Regions from separate parts of the Homo sapiens genome. Here region 1 is linked to region 2. Evidence: promoter capture Hi-C in human tissues and cell types (Jung and others, 2019). All regions are on one chromosome and are shown on one strand. Each heading gives the region's core, a stretch centred on a gene start or on the middle of the fragment in contact. The rest is flanking DNA. Distances are from core to core; before and after follow the strand shown. Region 1 overlaps DZIP1L (DAZ interacting zinc finger protein 1 like). Region 2 holds the start of A4GNT (alpha-1,4-N-acetylglucosaminyltransferase).

Region 1 (6,297 bases), core at 841-3,340, 58 kb after region 2:
GGTTACATGAATAAGTTCTTTGGTGGTGATTTCTGAGATTTTGGTGCACACATCACGTGAACAGTATACACTGTACCCAGTGTGTAGCCTTTTATCCCTCTCCACCCCCATGCCCTTTCCCCCAAATCCCCAAAGTCCAATGTACCATTCTTATGCCTTTGTGTCCTCAGAGCTTAGCTCCCACATAGGAGTGAGAACATACGATGTTTGGTTTTCCATTCCTGAGTTCACTTAGAATAATAGTCTCCAATTCCATCCAGGTTGCAGCAAATGCCATCATTTTGTTCCTTTTTAGGGCTGAGTAGTATTCCATGGTATGTATATATATCAGTTTCTTTATCCACTCATTGATTGATGGGCATTTAGGCTGGTTCCACATTTTTGCAATTGCAAATTGTGCTGCTATAAACATGCATGTGTAAGTATCTTTTTCATGTAATGACTTCTTTTCCTCAGTGTAGATACGCAGTAGTGGGATTGCTGGATCAAATGGTAGATCTCCTTTTAGCTCTTTAAGGAATCTCCACACTTTTCCATAGTGGTTGTACTAGTTTACATTCCCACCAACAGTGTAAAAGTGTTCCCTTTTCACCACATCCATGTCAACGTCTATTAATTTTTGATTTTTTGATTATGGCCATTCTTGTAGGGGTGAGGTGGTATCACATTGTGGTTTTGATTTGCATTTTCCTGGTAATTAGTGATGCTGACCATCCCCACTCTGGGAAGCTCCCTCCTCATTTAAGGACAGTCTGGAGTCCTTAGGACCTCCAGTGCTGCTACCCAAGGCTTCTGGGCCCACTCCTCAGCCACTCGTCCTGATCCATTGTCTCCTTGGGTTTGGATTATTCTTGTTTCTCCAGTTCCATGAGGTGTGACCTTAGATTATCTATTTGTGCTCTTTCAGCCTTTTTTTTTGAGACGAATCTCGCTCTGTCACCATGCTGGAGTGCAGTGGTGCGATCTCGGCTCACTGCAACCTCCGACTCCCTGGTTCAAGGGATTTTCCTGCCTTAGCTTCCTGAGTAGCTGGGATTACAGGCACGTGCCACCCCACCCAGTAGAGACGGGGTTTCACCATGTTTGCCAGGATGGTCTCGAATTCCTGATCCACCCACCTCGGCCTCCCAAGGTGCTGAGATTACAGGCGTGAGCCACCGCGCCAGGCCGCAGACTTTTTGATGTAAGCATTTAATGCCATGAACTTTCCTCTTAGCACTGCTCTTGCTGTATCCCAGAGGTTTTGATAGGTTGTGTCACTATTATCGTTCAGTCAAAGAACTTTTAAGTTTCCATCTTGATTTCGTTGTTGACCCAACGATTATTCAGGAACAGGTTATTTAATTTCCATGTATTTGCATGGTTTTGAGGGTTTCTTTTGGAGTTGATTTCCAATTTTATTCCACTGTGATCTGAGAGAGTGCTTGATATAATTTCGATTTTCTTAAGTTTACTGAGACTTGTTTTGTGGCCTATCATCTGGTCTATCTTGGAGAATGTTCCATGTGCTGATGAATAGAATATATATTCTGCAGTTGTTGGGTAGAATGTTCTGTAAATATCTGTTAAGTCTATTTGTTCTAGGTTATAGTTTAAGTCTATTGTTTCTTTGTTGACTTTCTGTCTTGATGACCTGTCTAGTACTGTCAGTGCAGTCTTGAAATCCCCCACTATTATTGTGTTGCTGTCTATCTCATTTCTTCGGTCTAGTAGCAATTGTATTATAAATTTGGAAACTCCAGTGTTAGGTGCATATATATTTAGAATTATGATATTTTCCTGTTAGACTAGTCCTTTTATCATTATGTAATGTCCCTGTTTGTCTTTTTTAACTGCTGTTGCTTTAAAGTTTGTTTTGTCTGCTATAAGAATAGCTACTCCTGCTCGCTTTTGGTATCCATTTGCATGGAATGTTTTTTTTCCGCCCCTTTACCTTAAGTTTGTGTGAGTCCTAATGTGAGTTTAGGTGAGTCTTCTGAAGACAGCAGAAACTTGGTTGGTGAATTCATATCCATTCTGCCATTCTGTATCTTTTAAGTGGAATATTTAGGCCATTTACATTCAATGTTAGTATTGAGAGGTGAGGTACTATTCTATTCATTGTGCTATTTGTTGCCTGAATACCTTGCCTTTTTTTTTTTTCGTGTATTATTGTTGTATAGGTCCTATGAGATTTATGCTTTAAGGAGGTTCTGTTTTGTTGTATTTCATGGATTTGTTTCTGTATACATGTGTAACAAACCTGCATGTTGTGCACATGTACCCTAAAACTTAAAGTATAATAAAAAAATAAATTAAAAAAGAAGATTTAGAGATCCTTTTAGCAGTTCTTGTAGTGCTGGCTTGGTAGTGGCGGATTCTCTCAGCATTTGTTTGTCTGGAAAAGACTGTATCTTTCTTTCATTTATGAAGCTTAGTTTCACTGGATACAAAATTCTTGGCTGATAATTGTTTTGTTTAAGGAAGCTAAAGAATAGGACCCCAATCCCTTCTAGCTTGTAGGGTTTCTGCTGAGAAATCTGCTGTTAATCTGAGAGGTGTTCCTTTATAGGTTACCTGGTGCTTTTGCCTCACAGCTCTTATGATTCTTTCCTTCATCTTGACTTTAGATAACCGGTTGACTATGTGCTTAGGTGATGATCTTTTTGCAATGAATTTCTCAGGTGTTCTTTGAGCTTCTTGTATTTGGATGCCTAGGTCTCTAGTAAGGCTGGGGAAGTTTTCCTCAATTATTCCCTCGAAGATGTTTTCAAGCTTTTAGATTTCTCTTCTTCCTTGGGAATAACAATTATTCTTAGGTTTGGATGTTTAACATGGTCCCAAGCTTCTTGGAGACTTTGTTCATTTTTTTAAAATTCTTTTTTGTCTTCTATGGATTGTGTTAATTCGAAAGCCTTGTCTTTGAGCTCTGAAGTTCTTTCTTCTGCTTGTTTGATTCTATTGCTGAGACTTTTCAGTGTATTTTGCATTTCTCTAAGTGTGTTTTTGATTTCCAGAAGTTGTGATAACTTTTTATTTATGCTATTTCACTAAAAAATTTTCCTTTCATCTCTTGTATAACATTTTTTGTTTCTTTAAGGTGGGCTTCACCTTTCTTTGGTCCCTCCTTGATTAGCTTAATAATTGACCTTCTGAATTCTTTTTCTGGCAATTCAGAGATTCGTCTTGGTTTGGATCCATTGCTGGTGAGCTGGTATGATTTTTGTGGGTGTTAAAGAACCTTGTCTTGTCATATTACCAGAATTGTTTTTCTGGCTCCTTCTCATTTGGGTAGACTATGTTAGAGGGAAGATCTGGGATTCAAGAGCTGCTGTTCAGATGCTTCTGTCCCATGGGGTGCTCCCTTGATGTAGTGCTCTCCCCCTTCCCCTAGGAATGGGGCTTCCTGAGAGCTGAACTGTAGTGATTGTTTTTGATCTTCTGGGTCTAGCCACCCAGTAGAGTTACAGGCTGGTACTGGGGAGTGTCTGCAAAGAGTCCTGTGATGTGATCCATCTTCAGGTCTTGCAGCCGTGGATACTATTCCAGCACCTGCTCCAGTGGAGGTAGTAGGGGAGTGAAGTGGACTCTTGAGGGTCCTTGTTTTTTCTTTTTGTTTGTTTAGTGCATTGGTTTTGTGTTTGTTGGCCTCCAGCTAGGAGGTGGTGCTTTCAAACTGTGGTCCTATAGGGAGGATGCATACTTCCCTACTTGCCCTAGGGACACCTGGTTAAGTATTCAGGTTTCTCAGGCGGTGGGCAGGGCCATACAGCTCCTAAGGGATTATGACCTTTGTCTTCAGCTACCAGGGCGGGTGCAGGAAGACCACCAGGTGGGGCCAGGGATAGACGTGTCTGAGCTCAGCCTCTCCTTGGGTGTGGCTTGCTGCAGCTACTGTTGGGGATGAGGGTGTGTTCCCAGTCCAATGGAGTTATATTCCCAGGGGGATTATGGCTGCCTCTGCTGAGTCATACAGGTCGCCAGGGAAGTGGGGGAAATCTGGCAGTCACAGGCCTCAGCCCATCTCCACGCAGCCTGCGGTCCTAAAGTCCGGTCTCACTCGCACTGTGCCCCACCAACAGGAGCAAGTCTATTTCCAAGCAGCCAGTGACCAGGGCTGGGAACTTGCCCCAGACCACAAACCTCCCCATTGAGAAAGCAAGCAGACTCAGGTTTTCGGCATCTCAGGGAGTCTGCAGCAGTGATCCAGTTCCTTTACAGGGTCTATGGATTCTCTCTCCAACTAGTATTTGAATGCCATTGTGCTTAACCAGAACACGTATGTTATTATTAGAAGCACCAATGAAATCTATTATTAAATAAAAACACACCTATTATTAAATTAGCCAAGCATTACACTATTGGAATGCTGTTTGTGTAGAGTAAGTTAGAAAAAAAAAATAGACAACTAGGGTTATTTTAGGAAGAATGGTCACTACTTTGATTGTTTTCAACTACTGACTACTCTAACTTTGGCCCTATATTCAGATTTGATTAAGACATTCCTTTCTAACCTTGCATGAATCCTCATCTTGGATTCAGATGCCTCCCTGGACCCTCCCATGGGCTCTGGGTGGATGTCAAAAGCTCGAGCAACTTCCAATAGGTCTTGAAAGGGTACTTGGATTGTGTTTACAGCAGTTTAGTTTTTTAAACATTGTTAGCCATGGACAGTGTGTTTGGCATAATAATAGTAATTGGGAGTACAAAAATGAGCAAGCTGTGGTCTCTTATCCTAGGATTCAGTCAGATGGTAGAAAAGCATGTTCCAACGAAGTCCCTTATGCTATGATGTGGTCAGAATTGTGACGCAGTCCTTTGCATTATCCTGCTGTGCACATTTTGATGGGGCTCCCAAACCCTGAACCATTGCACTTTCAGCAACTTTGAAGCCGCTGCTTACCCTTCTCTGATCCTCATTTCATGCCCCCCAGTCCTGCAAGAAAAGCACCAGGCACTGATCACAGACTCCCAGGCCAGCAGCAGCAGGTGTGAGAGGCTTAGGGGAAGGAGAAGAAGGGTAGCCTCTCTCTGTAAAGGTGAACTCCTGTCTCCTCTAGGATGCAAAGGGAATCTCGATTCAGACTCTCAGACACCTGGAATCCCTGCTGAGAGTCCAGCGGGAGCAGAAGGCCCGGAAGTTTTCTGAATTTCTGAGTCTGAGGGGAAAGCTTGTCAAGGAAGTCACCAGCAGAGCGAAGGAGAGACAGGAGAATGGCGCTGTGGTGTCCCAGCCAGACGGGCAGCCTTCAGGTACACTGGGGAGAGGGCTTGCTCAGGGCTGTGACCTGTAAGGGTCCCATTCTTGCCAAAACTTGTTTGCACATGAGGAGGGTATAGTCTCTGTCCCCCATTAGGGGCACTTCTCTGAAGGGCTGAGCTGGTAGGGTCCTTACAGGGGACTGAGTCCAGAAGTTCTCTGTTGAGGAAATAGGATCTGGGGTGGAGTGGGGGCATTTGTCCAGGGTCACTCGGGGAAGTTGGAGGAGAGCCGGAGCTGGAGCCTGTTGTCAGCCTGAACTGTCCCTGTGCAGACATGCTGCCTCCCTTAGCACCTTCATTCTGTTTGGCTTGTTGCGACCACAGTTGAGTGTCTCTTCAACAGAGAGCAGCCTATTCAGTTTCTGGCTCTACACACCAGGCATGCCAGCCTGGGGAGGCAGGCAGAGGCCCGGGAGCATTGAAGCTGCAGGTGGAGGCAAATATCAATTGAATGTAAACTTCTGCAGAGCTCAGATAGCCCCTGCTCTGGCCATGGGAGAGCATGAGAGACTGGGCCAGTTCTGCACGCAGATGAATTCTCAGAGCTCATAGTTGGTTCCTTGGGCCAGGTCATAGCTGCCACTTTACCATTTGTCCATGCTCTGGGGGTCATGACAAGAGAAGGCCCTGTGGTTCTGGTGGAACACGAAATTCTGTGGACCAGGACCCTTGAGTCTGTTCTTACGGAGCAAGTGTATTTGTGTTCCCAGGTTTGAGAGCCCCCTGTTTCCAGAGGGTTCCAAGAGGGTCTGGGCTGCTGTGGTGAGAGGCTCTGGGGAGGGCTTCAGTGGGTCTGGTCTGCTCATGCAGGTGCTGTCCTGCTCCTTTTACTTCGTCTCCTCAGTCAGGGACACATGTGGCCAGAAGGAGGCCAGTTCTGTATCTCCTGTGTCCAGGAAGAACCGATTTGAGCTCTTCATGCAAAAAAATTTTGCAGAGTATGGCCCACGTATCTCTGAGGATATGAGAGATGATTTTAGTTGCTACATCAACCAATCATTTTATAACTTATTTTTATTTTTCCTCATGTGAATTAGAAGAAAATAAGACTAACAT
Region 2 (5,679 bases), core at 1,479-3,978:
CACATCAATTCACATTTCCTAAGTTCTCATCAGTCAGCAACAATTGCCCAGGCTCCATAGTCTGTTGGATTGACCAAGTCTGGCTTACATTATAATGGAGGAAGCAAGAACTCTTCACACGACTCAGAAATTCCTAGGAAAGTAGACAACACCTGAATGCATATGTGACTGCCATCGCTGTATTCAGACACATCCATTGCTCAAAGACAAGTAGTTCTTTGTACATCTCTACTCAGATATCTACATTGGGGTTCCTAGGGGTTGCTTGGCTAGTTGGAGAAGGCCTGAGATTGTGTAGTGAAGAAATCCAGAAGAATTTTGAGCAGAGTTAGTGTCAAGGAGGGTCAGGGAGCAGGGACATTTCTTAGGGAAGGTGATATGTAGGAAAAGGTATGGACAAGTGACATCCTGGGTTAAGGTACTGATGTAAAATATGGTGCCAGGGTTCAGGGTCTCCTGAAGCCCATCCTTGGAGCTTCTAGGGATCTGTAAAGTCCAGGTTAAGAGCTGCTGCTGTGACACCTGCCTGAACAGACAGAAGTTAGTGTGGTATAGGCCAGGAAAGGCAGAAAGGGGTGCAGAAGGAAGGGAAAGTAGTTCTGTTTCTCAAACCAAAGGGAATGCTGAAGGATGGATGTTGGGGGCCCTGAGAAGTTCCAGGTAGAGTGGCTCAGATGACAGGAGGCCTTCTCAGAAAGACACAGGAAGGACTTTGGGCTATGAACCTACAGAGGCTCCAAGTACCAGTGACCTGGCTTCTGAACGCATCTCATCAACTCTTATACAGGGTTGAAGATTTCCCTCTTAAAAGTTCACTGGGGACCAGGCGCGGTGGCTCATGCCTGTAATCCCAGCACTTTGGGAGGCCAAAGTGGGCGGATCACTTGAGGTCAGGAGTTCGAGACCAGCCTGGCCAATATGGTGAAACCCTGTCTCTACTAAAAATACAAAGATTATCTAGGAATGGTGGCACATGCCTGTAGTCCCAGCTACTTGGGAGGCCAAGGAAGGAGAATCACTTGAACCAGGGAGGCAGAGGTTGCAGTGAGCCAAGATCACACCACAGCACTCCAGCCTGTGCAACAGAGGGAGACTCTGTCTCAAAAAAAAACAAAAAAAAAAAAAACAAGGTTAGAATAGGGAATAGATTTCACTCATCTGAACAAAACAAAACAACTTAATGTTTGTTATCAGGGAGTACAAATACCATCCATATTGATATAATTCTATTTTTCTCTTCTATTTTCCTTGGTAGAAAGTGACAATAACTTCTTTGGTTTAAAGAGAACTTTCATTCTCACAGTGAGCCTGAGGTCGGTCATTTTCTGCACTTTTCAAGGGAGTTGAGGCTCTGGGCAGTTTAGGGGCTTGTCTAGTGCCCTCAGCCTGTGGTGGCTGGAGGCATAACTCCAAGCTCAGTGCTACTTCCATCATGCTTTCTACTTGGTTCTTGGTCAGATAGGTCCTACTTTTGTGCTTGGGATTTCACTGCATTGCTGATGCTCACATTCATCCTCACCTGACAAAGGCCATTAACTACATCACTGATCTCTGCCTTGACCACTTGTTCAATAGTTTTAGCCACTGGGCTAGCAGTTGGGAGGCACTAAGATATGTGACCCACCTGAGGCCCAGGAATGTGTTATCACTCCCACAGATGGGGTCCTCTAGTTACCCCTGGGCAAGGAGCAGGAGCACTAATCTCCACTCCCCTTCATAGGAAAGAACAACCAATCTGTCCAATTACAGAGAACTTTGGAAAGATGCCAAGGCACTCTGAGCCCAGAATTAATGAGGTCCAGAGAAGAAATTCAGCTCCAAAAGGAAGAGGTTTGTGGAGACCTACAAGCTGTTTCTGGGGTCCTTGGACACATAGAAAACCAGAAGCCATCAATGAGTGGGGCAGCTTTAACTCCCTTCATGTAGGACCTGCTATGTTAGAATCTAAAGTCTGCTCAGGAGCAGGCCTACCTGCTCACACTAGAGCATCCAGGGGGAACTGTGAATACCTGCTCATGGCCAAGACAGGTGACTCTCAGCAGAGGATGGCTCCAAAGAAGATTGCTAAGAGCTCATTTCAGGGGCGGTGGAGAATAGGCCACAGGTGAGTGCTAACACCTTGGGAAATGTGGGGACTGCCACATCAGTGGAGGACAACAAAGCTGGCTTCCTGAGACTGGGACGAGGCTTATACCCCATAAGGGGGACCTTGGGGAAAAAGGAGCCTTCCTGCAGCCACTGTGACTGACACTGGGGAATCACTTCTCATTCTAGATCACTGGGCCTTTGGACTGCAGGGCTTTGTTCATTGCTTATTTGTGGTGATGGGCTCTCTTTCCTTTTAATCAAACTTTGTGCTTGCAAAGGGGAGTTTGTACCACCTTACAGGGTCTCTGTCCATAATTTTGATTCAAGCTAAACTGATCAAGTGCAGGATATGTTGGCTCCAAGGTTATGCCAGGATACAGTTTTCTCCAGGTGAAATAATCCCTTTATAACCCCCATAATAGATCCACAAACAGGCAGGATTAGTGTGTGGGTCACCTTAAAAATCTGGTAAACCCCTCTTGTTCCCAAGTGGCTGTGTTTGGGAGAACTTAGTAAAGGGAGGAGCTTCCTGGGAACTTTTTGTGTTTAGTCTCAATCTGCCAATGATTTACTTACCCCTGTGTTGTTGAGTTGGAAGATTGGGTGGTGATTTATCAGAAAGTGTAGCAGGAAGAACTTGTCATTTCTAAGACCTCAAATACTGGTTAACTGCATTTGCAGCTAGAAGTTAGGCTCTGATTCACTGTTTTGTATTTTCTAAAAGGGTTATATGTAATTTGAAAGATAGACCTGCCAAGACGTGAGATCTGTGTTCTCCTTGGTTAGAGCTAACATTTTTGGTGAGGAAAGCACTGCAGGTAACGGTTCAGAGCCTGGACTTTGGTGGCAGGTGGATGCAAGTTACAGTCACAGCTCTGCTACTTGCTAATCGTGTGATCTTGGCAATTTATTTAACTCTTTAGCCTTCAGTTTGCTTCCTTTGTTAATTTTTTTTCTTAGTTCTATTAGTTTTTCAGTTATGTTTTCTGAACCTAGAGATACTTTTGCCTCTTTTAATATTCGTAGTAGAAATTCATTTCTCTTGTTTTATTGCATTGGTTACAATTATCAGATTGTAACCAATGATGTCAGTGACAATGACAATGGACATTCATATCATATTCCTGATCTTAATGGGATGTTTCAAATGTTTCATATTAAGTATGATAATTGCTATATGTTCTGGTAGACATTGTTTAAAATCAGCTTAAGAAAGTTTCCTTGTACTTTAAAAAAATTGTGAATGGATCTTAAAGTTAGTCACATTCTTGGCATCTCTTGAGCCAAAATGATCATATGGCTTTTCTTCTTTAGACTGTTAAGATAATGCATTTTATCAATAGTTTTCCCTATTAACTAATTATTTTTAATGTCAAATCATTTTAAAATCTAAGATAAATCCTGATTGGTTATGATGCATTTTTCTTTCTCACATATTTCTTGTCTTTTTCTTTTTCTTTTTTTTTAAATTTTTGTGATGATTTTCACTATGCTGCCCAAGCTAGTCTTGAACTCTTGGACTCAGGGGATCCTCCTGCCTCAGCCTCCCTAGTAGTTGGGACTACAGGCATATGCCACCATGCCTGGCTGCATTTTTTTTTTAATATTGCTGGACTTGATTTCATCATATTTTATTTAGGATATTTAAAATTTAAGTTTTTAAATGATATTCATGTATCATTTTCTTGTGTGCTATCTTTGTCAGGTTTTGCAGCTGTGATTTTTAATTAATTGTGTTGATTTAAAGGAGCAGGCTGGCACAGAGAAGAGGACATGCGGAAGGAGCTCCAGCTCTCCCTGTCAGTCACCTTGCTGCTTGTCTGTGGCTTCCTCTACCAGTTCACCCTGAAGTCCAGCTGCCTCTTCTGTTTGCCTTCTTTCAAGTCCCACCAGGGGCTGGAAGCCCTCCTGAGCCACAGACGTGGCATTGTGTTTCTAGAGACCTCAGAGAGAATGGAGCCACCCCATTTGGTCTCCTGTTCCGTAGAGTCTGCTGCCAAGATTTATCCTGAGTGGCCTGTGGTGTTCTTTATGAAGGGTCTTACTGATTCCACACCGATGCCCTCAAACTCCACATACCCAGCTTTTTCCTTCCTGTCAGCAATAGACAACGTTTTCCTCTTCCCTTTGGATATGAAAAGGCTGCTTGAAGACACACCATTGTTTTCATGGTACAATCAAGTAAGTGTTTAGGGAAACTTAAAATGTCAACGAATTGTATATATGGGTAAACTGAGGGTAAGGACTCAGGTCGGAGATGGGAATAGAACCCACATTTGGGTTGACTCTCATTTGGCCCTCTTTTTACCATGTTGAGAACTGATTCAAATAAAGAGGGAAGACTTACATTAGGTGCATCTTTATTCTGCTGTCTTTTGCTTCTAGCCTTATTTCTTTTAGGATCTTGGTTACTTTGGAGACTATTCTTAACTGAATGAGTTTTTATATCTTTTCTAGGTGTATAGGACACTTATTTTTCACTACAGTTTTAAATCCACTTATGTTAAACTTTATTTTTTTTTTCACCTAAAGTGGAAACCAGGCAATATTTAACATGAAAATGATGTAAGTAGAAAATTCATGAAGGATGGATGAAATGCTGCGATATGAGATTGGGTTGTATTAAGATATGATTGAGAAACTCCTGGAGCTTAGAGGAATTTTGTAATCCCCAAGTTTGTAGTGAACCAGAATAAGGGAATAATGTGCCAGTCTAATATTTCTCTTATAGAGGAGCTGAAATCAGGTTGCTTAAAGAAATTATAGTACAACAACTCAATGATTCCATTATGCAGGCTTTAACTATAATTTTTTAAAACTGACATCCTATGAAGACTATAACACAATATGGAATTAAAACCACCTTATGTCATAATGTAATTATAATAGTTATAACGATTTAAGTTATGCAAAAACCCACACACATCTATTGAAAAAAAAAAAGACCTGAAAGAACTCTACAACACACAATAATAGTAGGTGTTTTCGTATAATTGGATTAGGAGTGAATTTAGTGATGAGAATGTGTTGATTTTATAAATAACATTATTTTAGAAAACAAAAAGTAATCTAAACATTGACATAAAAATAATACTATTCACACTGGGTGTGCTGGCATGCACCTGTAGTCTCAGCTACTCCAGAGACCAAGGCAGGAGGATCGCTGGAGCCCAGGAGTTCAAAGGCCAGCCTGGGCAACATAGCGAGACTCTGTCTCAAACAAACACACAAGCAAAAATAATACTATTTGCTTGCCACATAAAGTTCTGTCTAAATTCTAATCATAGGCTGTAGCAAATATTACCAAACTTTTTTTTCTGTGTAGGGCCAGATAGTAAATATTTTCGGCCTTGTGGGCTAAGGTGGTAAAATTGAGGATATTATGAAGGTACTTGTGGTAGTTTCTTCCGTCTGTTGTAACAAATTACCACCAACCTGGTGGCATAAAACAACAGAAATTCATTCTCTCACAGTTCTGGAGGCCAGAAGTCCCAGATTATTTTCACTGGGCCAATATCAAACTGCTGGCAGGGCTGCATTTCCTCCTGAGTTCCTAGGGAAGGATGATCCCTTGCCTCTGACAAGCTTCTG

What was found. Contacts are between HindIII fragments. The study calls those that stand out against the background at their distance.
Region 1: a fragment that was not itself captured here is called in contact with the fragment with the promoter of A4GNT in region 2 in 3 of the 25 tissues and cell types used here (adrenal gland, bladder and mesenchymal stem cells).

The regions. Positions count from the first base shown.
Region 1 is chr3:138,070,578-138,076,874 of GRCh38, reverse strand. It overlaps DZIP1L (DAZ interacting zinc finger protein 1 like), which reads left to right. Exons shown (of 16, transcript NM_173543.3): 12 at 5,040-5,232. Among named protein-coding and RNA genes, the nearest start is that of DZIP1L, 42 kb to the left of the region's middle. RefSeq lists an enhancer at 5,647-6,148. The HindIII fragment of the contact is 3,794 bases long and covers 194-3,987 here.
Region 2 is chr3:138,129,439-138,135,117 of GRCh38, reverse strand. It overlaps A4GNT (alpha-1,4-N-acetylglucosaminyltransferase), which reads left to right and starts at 2,728. Exons shown (of 3, transcript NM_016161.3): 1 at 2,728-2,906; 2 at 3,836-4,269. The coding sequence starts at 3,862. The HindIII fragment of the contact is 13,843 bases long and covers 1-5,679 here.